Regions from separate parts of the Homo sapiens genome. Here region 1 is linked to region 2. Evidence: promoter capture Hi-C in human tissues and cell types (Jung and others, 2019). All regions are on one chromosome and are shown on one strand. Each heading gives the region's core, a stretch centred on a gene start or on the middle of the fragment in contact. The rest is flanking DNA. Distances are from core to core; before and after follow the strand shown.

Region 1 (5,497 bases), core at 1,508-4,007, 160 kb after region 2:
GGATAGCTGGATAACCATATGCAGAAGACTGGAACTGGACCTTAACCTTTCACCATATACAAAAATTATCTCAAGGTAGATTGAAGATTTAAATGTAAGATCTCAAACTATAAGAATCTTAGAGGAAAACCTTGGAAACACCATTCTGGACATAGAACTGGGCAAATACTTCACGATAGAGACTTCAAAAGCAATTGCAACAGAAAGAAACATTGAGGCCAGGTGCAGTGGCTCATGCCTGTAATCCCAGCACTTTGGGAGGCCGAAGCAGGTGGATAGCTTGAGGCCAGAAGTTTGAGACCAGCCTGACCAATGTGGCAAAACCCTGTCTCTACTAAAATTACAAAAATTAGCTGGGCACGATGATATGTGCCTGTAATCCCAGCTACTCAGGAGGCTGAGGCAGGAGAATCGCTTGAACCCTGGAGGCAGAGGTTGCAGCGAGCAGAGATCTCATGACTGCACTCCAGCCTGGGTGACTGTCTCAAAAATAAATAAATAAATAGATAAAATTGACAAGTGGGACCTAATTTCATTAAACTAAAGCACTTCTGCACAGCAAGAGAAACTATCAATAAACAAACTATAGAATGGGAGAAAATATTCATAAACTATGCATCTACCAAAGGCCAAATATTCAGAATCTATAAGGAATTTAAAGAATTCAACAAGCAAAAACCAAATAATCCCATTAAAAAGTACTCAGAAGACGTGAACAGACACTTCTTAAAAGAAGATATACAAGTGGCCAACAAGTGTATGAAAAAATGCTCAACATCACTAATCGTCAGAGAAATGCAAATCAAAACCACAGAGAAACCATTTCACACCAGTCAGAATGGCTATTATTAAAAAGTCAAAAAATGACAAATGTTGGCATCTTTTATAGAGTGAAGAGAGTGCTTATTCACTGTTGGTGGGAATGTAAAAATTAGTTCAGTCTCTGTGGAAAGCAGTTTGGAGATTTCTCAAAGAACTTAAAACAGAACTACCATTCTACCCAGCATTCCCATTACAGGGTATAAATCCAAAAGAAAGTAAATTGTTCTATCAAAAAGACACAAGCACCTGCATGCTCATTGCAGCACTATTCACAATAGCAAAGACATGGAATCAATTGAAGTGCCAATCAGTGGTGGATTGGATAAAGAAAATGTAGTACATATGCACCATGGAATACTATGCAGCTATGAAAAGAATGAAATTGTGTCCTTTGCAACAACAGATGCAGCTAGAAGCTATTATTCTAAGTGAATTAATGGAAGAACAGCAAATCAAATACTGCATGTTCTCACTTATAAGTGGGAACTTAATACTGGCTACTTGTGGACATAAAGATGGCAATGATAGAAACTGGAGACCACTAGAGGGGGTAGGGAGGGTTGAAAAACTATTGGGTACTATCCTCAGTATCAAGGTGATGGGATAAATTGTATCCCAAACCTCAGCATCATACAATATATCCCCTGAATCTAAAATAAAAGTTGCACATGTGTCCCCTGAATCTAAAATAAAAGTTGAAATTATTTTTTAAAAAGTAGAAATGGTAGTTACCTTTTGTTTTTTCACCTAACATTTCTTTTATTCTGTGAATGGTGACTCAAGGGTCTTCTTCATACTTAATCTTAGGTTTGGTGGTCATAAAGCTCTTAATGCAAGACATTTTTTTTGTCATTATTGATCACTGACATTTTTCTCTTAAAATGTATAAATTTAATGCCATCAGCCTGTTTAGAGAATCATTTGAGTTACATAAACTATTATAAACTTTGTTTCATTATTTAGATTTTTAGAATTGGAATTCCCAAATTGTATTTATTTTTATTCAGTTCCTATTCTATATTGTCTTATATCATCTCATTTAGAAATATTTTGCCATATCTTCTAATTTTTTCTCTTCCTTTATAGAATGGAAAGTATGTCCAGATATCTAAATATTTTAAAGGAGAATGTTGTTATTCTTTTTTTACCTGAGTCACCAGGAACAAAGACAAATCAGCCCAAGTAATATAATCCTGATGGCTTCTTGGCTATCTGAATTATGGATTCAGGCTACTATCATATTTTTTAGTTCTAATTGGGAAGATAAACTCTATTACATCTAATGGGCAGGATATCTTGGGCCTGACCTTTCATTTGAGGCATACTACTTTTCTTGTTCTTTCTCAGATTGGCATTGGTAGGTAAGCACTTCTTAAAGTAATATTGTCCCAAAATGGATTAGCATTCATATCCCTCCTTCATTTTCAGTGAAGTATTTAGTAAATGCTGATTTATACATGACAGTCTATGAAGTTCTAACTGTTGAGATATGTTTTTCTATGGCCCATGGCATAATTTTTTTTTTTTTTGGTGATTTAGAAAATAAAGATAATTTAAGCAAATTGAATAGCAATCATTAAGATTCTCACAAACAGATAATTTGATTAGCTATTTTTAAAGATCCCTTTAATTACAGATAGTCTGTGGGAATTATATGTCTGTGCTTTTGTCTGAAAGATCTCATTTATCTTTTCTTTTTAATTTTCAGTGTCATCCTATAGGCATTGGAAAAAGCAGGAAGATTCTAACCCCATCTCCCCATCTCTGCTAGTTGTGTGACCTTGAACCATTTACTTAACATCTGTAGGCCTCAGTTCAATAGCTTGAATAGATTGGCTTGATATTCTCCATTGTTTCTTACAATGATAACATTGAATGATACACTGTGTTGGTATTATTTATGGCTCAGTTATGCACTATGATGCTACAGTTCTGAAATTGGGAATTTCATATAGAGTGTATGTTTCTTGATTTTGCAAGTTTAAATAATCTATGAACTTGTACAGTTAGAGATCACTTTTTCTACCTGACACCCCTCAGCTCCCTCATTTTATAGATGGAGAAACAATGCCCATTTAGTTAAGTGACTTAATGGCCACATAGATATTAAAGTGGGGTTGTGTCTAGAGCTTAAGTGTTCTGGTTCTAAGTCTATGCTTTTACCAGTACTCTGCATTATCTCCCCTTTGTTGTTAAACTCTCCCTGGCTCTTCTCTGTCACATTATATATTTCTGGCCTGCCTCCCATAATCATTTGTCATATGTTTACATGGAATGCTAATTTTAATATTGGCTTAAAAGATATTTGAGGGAGAAAATAATGTCATAGACTGTATCTCAGAGCCAGAGAAGAAGGTTATTTCTTTTATTTGCATTCTCACTTAGCAGAGGTAACTAACAATGATTATATTGTATTCTTCCCAAGCAAGCCTTAGCAGTCTGCACAGAAACACATCATTTCCATGTTTGTCGCTGTTGTTGTATCCATCTGCTCTAGATTTTTTCCATAAACATTATAATTGGTAGGCTAAAGTTCATAGAATCATAAAGCCAGCAGTAATGTTTCGGGATCATATAGTTTATTCTTTTGCTTTGAACACAAACTGTCCCCCTACCCCCAACATAAAATCTAAAGCCTTCATACTGAAAATTAAACCAGTTTCCCCAATTTTGTACATTTTCATTGGGAGCCATTGTTTATCAATGCTAGTTAATCCACAAATGAAGCAGCATTTTGTACCTGAAATGCATTATTTCATATTCATCTTCAATTAGCCAGATCAGGACACAATGGAAAATGTACTCTACTGGTGATTTCTTGGGTTATTTGTAATCACAGATTAGAAAATTATTACCATCAAATGATAGGAAAAAATCATGGTTAATAAAACAAAATTTACTGCAAGTATTATAAATTATTTCCATAGATAGAGTAGAGAGCTATTTCTTTGTATCTTTTTCTCTTTTTAAAATATGGAGGATTCATTGTCACATGTATTTCTACTGCAAATTCAAATCCCTTAATTCTCCTCTGAAAAGCAATTGGCTGGCCTGACTACCTGCCTTCCTCTCTACCTTCCTTCCCTGCCTCCCACTTCTTCTCATCCCTTTTTTTCTTGTTCTCCTCTGCTTTCCTTAGTCCCCTCATTCCTTTTTCCTTTACTTTTCCTTCTTTCTGACTTTTCTCCTCTCTTCTTTTCATCCATTATTTTTAGTAATAATCTTATCTTTCCCTGTGAGGTTATATTAAACCTGTATACTCATATTTCAATTCAATTTTTCTTCTCTACTTAACAAATAGTTCCTTATTTTCTTCTTAAGTTTAATGTTATTAAACTATATTTGGTATATTGTGACACTTGCATGCTGTTTTGAAAAATATCAGCAGATCGTTATTGTATTTCTGAAATATGTATATTGTTTTATATACACATAAGATATTTTCTATTCTTCTACCTTTTAAAGTATTTAATGCATGCTAGATCTCATTATCTGTAATCCAGATTGCGTATCAAATTGGATCTAGAATCCATATAATAAGCTATCTGTATGATTTGATCTTTCTTAGGTTTTCTAATAAAAGAGGCATACCTCCTCTAAAAATTGTATAATCTGGTCTCTGAAGTTGCTCTTTGAATAACTAGAAACATCTTTAGTCATCTTGCTTTTTTTCCTGGATAAGGATACAGACTACTTAAAATTTGCCTTTATTCACTCTGTAATCTAGAAATCTATGAGAGTGAATTCAACATGTAAAGAAACTTCAGTTAGAAAATGGGACGTATTGTCCTGAAATCTTTTGACCATCTTGAACACATCTGCAACTTTATTCCCATTAAAGAGAAGTAAAAGTGTCAAGAAAATCTGAAATCAAAAGGACCTTATTAAATTTGAGAGTTTCATTAGATGTTAATTCTGCATCCATATGAAGATGATTTGCATTTATTTTGAAATTCTTTGGACTCAATCAACAAGCAAGAGAGGATGGTATGAAATAAACATCTTTGGTTGTGATTTAATTACAGGGAATCTTGCTGTTGAGGCAAAGAAATTTGAAGGTTGACTCTTCCCAATTTATTTAATTTTGCTCAGAGCATATGCTGAACTTACCGAAATACATTTTTTATTAATCAGATGTGTATTTATATCTTTCAGAAAATGGATGTGAATTAAATATAGCAGCAAAAGTCAATACTTCTAGAATTCCTGTTTTTAACTGAACTTACATGTATTAGCTTAAAGCTGCAAAATATTGCAGCTATTTACATTGGATATTATTAAATTTAATTTGATGTTTTACTTTGTTTTTGGGAAATGGAAAGTATTTTTCCATTTCTATTTCCATTTTCCAAAATATTTTTTCTATTTTCTTGTCAACCACATTTGCTTTAGGATTTTAGAGTATTTGTTATTTGTCAAATGCTGGATATCAGAAAATGCTACTTTACATTTAAGACATAGGGATTATTTTGCTGCTTGCTATTTTACAGATATTGATTAGCAATGTAACTTAATATTTCTTTTTTCACAGTCCCAATGAATTTTTTAACATTAATTTTTCAATAAGTTATTGTGGTCCAGGTGATATTTGGTTACATTAGTAAATGTACTTGAACACGCATGTTTATAGCAGCAGAATTCACAGCTGCAAAATCGTGGAACCAACCCAAATGCT
Region 2 (6,229 bases), core at 746-3,245:
TAAAAGATCTGGATATTTATTTTGGCCTCTGTAGATTTTTAAAAGAATGTTTTCACTTTTATTTTGCATGTTAGTCCCCATGTAGCCAAAGCCTTTATCCTCTTCAACAAAAAACTATGAGGTGCAGTCACTGCAATGTCTACAGAAAAACAAAGTTATGAGGTCACTAAAACCAAAGAGTTTGAAGCTGAAAAATTGGCTTTGATTATCATATGTCAGTAGAATGCCCGAACTGTGGAACTGATTCTTAGAGTAAATCATTACTAATGGTTTTCCCATTGGGGGTGGGGGCTGCATGATTTCGATAAGATGACTCGGGGCCTGCGGTCACCAACTCATCCATGATTAAATGTTGCTTGTGAAAACTGTGGGTGATTTTCAGTTCTGACCAATTGAATACTTACAGTATATTCTGGGAAAGGTGTGTTTTGCTTAGGTGGCAACATTAGGAAAAAGGAAGAAGGATTTCCCTATGCCATTTTCAAAATGAATGTGATGGCTCCTTATCTCGTTTCTTTCATTGGTCTGCTAGTCCCATTATGTCAGGGATTATATTATTATAACATAGATTATCTTATTAAAACAGATTCTAACACAGAAAACAAAATCAAAATGAATTAAAAAACTACACTAGCCAAAATCTACATACTTCAGGAAACCTCCAATAAATAGCCATAATTTACCTAATATTTTGAATCATTGAAATGAAATCTCAGAACACAATGAATTCCATAAAAATGTTTTAATATACTCTTGTTATTTATCTCTAAATGCCTTTTAAGTTTCCCCCAGTTATTTATTGAAAATCTTTGCCTACAGCAGACAGTGCCGGATTTGAGCCTTGGCTCAGTTACTTTCTATCCCTATTATCTTGCGGGTAATCAGTTTCTTCATCTCCAAAATAGAGATGAAAATGGTCCTATCTCATGCGATTGTTGCAAGGCTTAATGAGAACATGGAAAGCACTTAGCATAGTGTCTGGTATGTAGCAACTACTCATCAAATGCATGCAATAATTATTGTCTGTCCATTTCGCTTTTCCATGGGGGGCAGGAACGTATATTGGGAAGCACATGGTGTCTGGAGTGAGTCTGTTCTGGGGTCTAGTTCTGAGTCAGCCACTTACTCCATGTGGCATCTTGAGAAATTTAATTAACCATTTGAGCCCTATTTCCTCATTTCTAAAATGGATATAATAATATCCAGTTCACTGGGTTGTTGTAAGCACAGTGCCTATTAAGTCCTCTTCTTACCAATCAATTATCAACAAGTGAACATTTATGAAGTCTATTCCAAGGACAATGCAAAGCACAAGGTGTAACAGGAAGTTTTAATAGAAAATAAACGCGCGTTCTCCACCACGGCCAAGGAGAGCATCTAACAAGTCATGCCAACCATGCACAATGAATTGCTGATGATATATGCAAATTAAAGTGGATCTCTAATCCATGCCCATTTATATTTTTCGAGTGTAGATGTGGATAAATTTTCAATGAGAGCCTTTTTCCTGGTATTCTTACAAGTCAGCAGATCTCCAAAGCCCAACTAAAATATGGGCTGATTAAAGACTCCAGAAAAACTGAAACAGTCGCAAACTGCTCGGTGGCCAGTGCCACAGAAACTAGGACGAAACGAGCCTCTTCTTTCTAACCAAGGGCAGATCTCAGGCTCTCTTGGGGAGGTAAAGCGGAAGGGTGAAATGCCGGTCAAGTTGCCTAGACTCTGATGGAAGCGGTGGCCAAAGGGCCCCTCCCCAGTGTCACCAGCCTCCCCATTCCTGTCACGGAGGATTTTCCTCAGGCGTCGTGACAGACCCGAGGCGTGTTGCCGGGGCCCGCCGGGCCGAGGAGGAGCCGACGCGGCCCGGGGAACTCCAGTCCTCACACGGTTAACGCTCTTCCAAGGAGAGTGGAGGAGGGAGGGTCCCCGCCCACGAGAACGAAGAGAATCTCAGGGCCGAAGCCCCGCCTCAGCCGGCCCGGCCCCTCCCCGCCAGCCCGCCACCCAACTCGGGCCGCACCAGGGGCCGCACCTGCCCGCGCGCACACGCCCCCCGCGCGCCAGGCCTCGCCGCCGCCGCCGCCCTCGGCACGCGCCCGCTGCGGCTGCCCCCCACCGCCCTGCCTCGGCGCGGGCCACAGCGCACGAGCCGCCGCCGCCGCCGCCGCGCTCCTCCCCGCCGCGGACGCCGCCCCCGCGTAACCGCCGAGGAAGCCGAGGCGAGCCCGGGTCGGGCGCGAGGGCGCGCGGGCCGCTGCTGCCACCGCGGGTGTTCCCTGCGCTCCCGCTCCAGCTAGGACTCTCTCTGCCGCCTCCTCCTCCTCCTCCGACCTCAGTCCTCACCACCCTCCTCCCGCTCCTCAAAAGCACCCCCGAGTCCCCACCCCCTCACGCCGCACCCGCGGGAACGAGGCCTTGGGAATTCAGGGGAGTGGCTGTGGGGGCGCGTCGCGGCTCCCAGCTCGGCCAGCCCCTCTTTCAAGACATGGTCTGATCCCCATTGTAAAAGCTGCGCCCCGAAGAGGAGGAGAGAGTCGTGCTCCCTGCCTGGGGCTGCAGGGAGCTCTCCGTGCTGAAGCTCTTGCATTATTTTAGGGTGGGGCGAAGAGGGCCCTGGATTTTGGGGAGTGGGGGTGGGTGGGGAGGAGGACCCGAGGGGGGCAAGGACTCTGTGGGGGAGTCGGTGAGAGACTATGGGGAAGGACCAGGAGCTGCTGGAAGCTGCTCGCACTGGAAATGTGGCTCTGGTGGAGAAACTCCTGTCTGGCAGGAAAGGAGGGATCCTGGGCGGTGGATCCGGACCCCTGCCCCTGTCTAATCTGCTAAGGTAAGGACGGGCACCAGCTCCGGGGTTGGCACACCTCATTATGCATTGTGATGGATATACGTCCTCCTCCTCACGGTTATTGCACCTGGTGGCTGCCAGCGATTCATTCTTAAATTAGGTAGGAAAACAGACTGCGTGTATGGAGAGGAGGTATGAGCCTCCCAGTCAGATTGATGCCTTAGATTCTTTGAGTAATTTTAAAATAGCCTTCCATCAATGCGTCAGTAAGCTACTTTTCCTCTGAGCCCTGGTGCAGAACTTGTACATGTACTAGTGTTGCTTGAAGAAAATCGACGTTCCGCCCGCTTTCCATCAACATTTATTACATATTTGCAGCTTTGAACGCAGCCTTTTTTGTCTAGTTAAATGAAATTGGCAGAGAATCTCTTGCGTGCATGCAATTACCCTGCAAAAGCCACAGCCTTCGGTGGCTCCTACCTTCTCTTGCAGAAGGCGTTTGCTGTGCCGTGGGTTATGATCCCACAAAATGAAGTGAGTGAACCTTCTTTCTGGTGAGATGTCTTCAGCACAGGGTGTGTATAAAACTTGATGGGGCAGGTTAGGCAGCCCCAGCAATACTTTCAGTTACCTGGACATAGCTGAGTGAAACTTGGTTGTTATAGCTCAGGATGAAGGATGCCAGGTTGGTATTGGGATACTGTATATGGAGTACGGTAGAGGCCTTTTAACGTGAAGATGTCGTAGGTGAGACTGGTATTGCTTGGAGAATCTTTCTAAGATGACATTTAAAAAAAATGTCAAGGTCTTCATTCAGCAGTACCTTGGAAATAGCGGGGTTGATTTCCATACTTGAGAAACTATTAAAAGTTGTATTGATGGACAAATGAAATCAACTGGGAGGGAGGAAGCCTGGAGAGTATTCACTAGATACAATTCAAGGGAAGCTCTTTAGTTTCTAAAATCGTGGCTATCCAATTTATCCTGGGTATTTTTGGAGTCATCAATTGTCATTCATATCTTCGCCTTAAAACATCTCTTGGATAACCCAACTATAGTTGTAAAAATTTTAGAAAGCCCAAGTGATTTCCCTGGTTTTTTAAAAACTGTTCCATGCTACCCTTGACAAGTGCTTAATAGAAACTTTTGGGTGATGACATTGCGTTCTTTACACAAGTTCTCATAGGTTGTGGTGGTCAGACAGTGCAATTAATTATAGGGCTAGCTAAAAGGGAAAATGGAAAGTTTCTATTACAGTGAAATAAATTGAGTTGAAAAATAGTCGATGGGATTTTAAAAAGCCCCATATGTTATTCTATATACTCGTTGACAGTGACATTTTATTGGAATGATAGTTCATGTCAGAAGAATGAATATTTATGGGACATTTTTTCAATAGGTCATAGAGATGACTTGTGTGTACTCCCTTGTTAAATAATCTTCTCTTTCAAACACAGGTAGACAATGTGTGCATATTTCAGATTGCAGCTCTAATAATTGCCTGTAGTCACATGTAGTTTATGTGAAAGCAATTTATCTCTTTACAGTTTTAAGTTACACGTAAAATAACAACGTTTGCTGTGGATCCATCAGTTATAAAAATGATTATGTCTAAAAACTGGTATGCTGAAAGAATTTTCTCAAAATAAACAATTTCTTCGGGAAAACATGAGGAATTATTTGAGAACAGTGAGAATTTCACTTAATTTTATTGTGATAAATCGTATTTTAAAAACACTCCTTGTGACAAAACTCAAAAGCAAACATCCTTTAAATACTCCTTTCCCAGCTGTGATTTTTTTTTTTTTTTTTAAAGAATAGATGTCAAGTTTTAGGGATAAAACACCAAGTATTTAATGTTAGTGGACACTAAAGTATCAAAATAGTGACCCACAGTGTATATCTTGAGTGAGAGGTTTTCTCTTTTGCTGGTGTAGTAGTAGTAGTAGTAGCTCTACAACAAAGATTGCACATAGAAAACAAAAGTAAACAACATGTGTTTATTAGAGTACTTCGAACCAAGTTGTAAAAATCACAAACAAAACCAATAACCTTTAAACTTGCTTTTATCCATCTTATACTGAATAGTGTCTGAAGAAAATGAGAGTTGAAATTGTATTCTTTGGGCAATCATTTGCATAAAATGACATTCCTAAGAAGGCACATTTTATTTAGTTGTCACTTTATTTCAAAAATGATTGTCATCAGAAATTTATTGGCAGGATAATGGAAAATGTGTCCCCCGTCAAACATAATGACACTTTGAAATTTCTTAATGTTTTAGAAGGAACTGTAGAATATGTTTGGCACTTTTTCCCCGCTTGCTTTATTACCTGGGTTGTGTAATAATGGTGTCAGACCCTATGCTAAGTGCTTACACGTGTCATCTCATTCAATTCTTGTGTCAGCCTTAGGAGGTCCATTGTCATTTCACAGATGAAGGAATAAAAAGATAAGATTAAGGACTTGCCCATGGTCACTTAATTAATAATGGCAAAGATTTGAAAATCTGTGATTCAGATTTGTTTTACAACATTTTAAGTCTCATTCATTGAATCTGTTTTATTCACAAAAGTTTAAAGGTATGTGGCCAATTTAGACAGGCCAATCTGAACATTTTTTGCTATGAAGAATAATTTGAAATTCCTTAAATTTTGGTATTTTTTTCTAATTAAAAAAATCTCACAACTGCCCTTTGAGGGTTCACTAGACAAGAACTTTTCTGAAGATGCTTCTGATTACTTGTTATCTACTGGTAATAAGAAATTATCCTTTCAACAGTAACTATGTAATGGGGAATCAGGTATGCTTTTGGGTGGCACTGCAATTTTCAGCAAATGTAAGAATGCCATTGAATAAATTTAAAAACCTCTCTAAGCCTCACTATTCTATCAGAGTGGAAATAGTAATAATAGTACCTATCATATAAGATCATTATAAGGATTAAATGAAGTATAAAGTAATGAATGCAAAACATTTAGCATATAGGTGTTCATCGTTAGTGTTAATATTTTTCATGCACCTCTAAAGCACTTGACTGTATTCTTTAAGGCCTTAATGACTAAAGATTTGCTTCCTATTGGACTGGGAGTAAATTTCCCATAGCAATCATAGAATCGTCAAATAAGGAGGGAACTTTCTTCCAACTTCTCACCTAGTGCGGAAATTTTCTCTGTAACATTTCTTACCTGTTAGTTATTCCAGCCCTGTTAAACCTTCCAATGACTAGATTCATTCTATTTTTGACAGCTGTAATTATTTTAAAATTTTTCTTTTCATTGAGCTAAAATCCACTTCCCTGTGACTTTCAGCAATTGGTAGTAGATTGGCTGTATGGGTCAATATAAAGCAGTCTAATTCATCTGCAGGATAGTTCTTTAGATGCATGTATTTTTGTTTTCTTATAAGTATTTTTCATGGAAGAGCTATCATCTCTGTTAACCT

Evidence for each region. The method cuts DNA at HindIII sites, captures the fragments that hold promoters and counts their contacts. A contact is called where the count stands out against the background at its distance.
Region 1: a contact is called between a fragment that was not itself captured here and the fragment with the promoter of ANKS1B in region 2, in 1 of the 25 tissues and cell types used here (dorsolateral prefrontal cortex).

What each region holds. Positions count from the first base shown.
Region 1 is chr12:99,818,325-99,823,821 of GRCh38, reverse strand. The region is part of intron 2 of ANKS1B (ankyrin repeat and sterile alpha motif domain containing 1B); the gene reads left to right. Among named protein-coding and RNA genes, the nearest start is that of ANKS1B, 160 kb to the left of the region's middle. The HindIII fragment of the contact is 7,470 bases long and covers 1-5,497 here.
Region 2 is chr12:99,980,702-99,986,930 of GRCh38, reverse strand. ANKS1B (ankyrin repeat and sterile alpha motif domain containing 1B) reads left to right here and starts at 1,995. Exons shown (of 27, transcript NM_001352186.2): 1 at 1,995-2,827. The coding sequence starts at 2,694. RefSeq lists a silencer at 1,973-2,022 and an enhancer at 2,135-2,965. The HindIII fragment of the contact is 20,528 bases long and covers 1-6,229 here.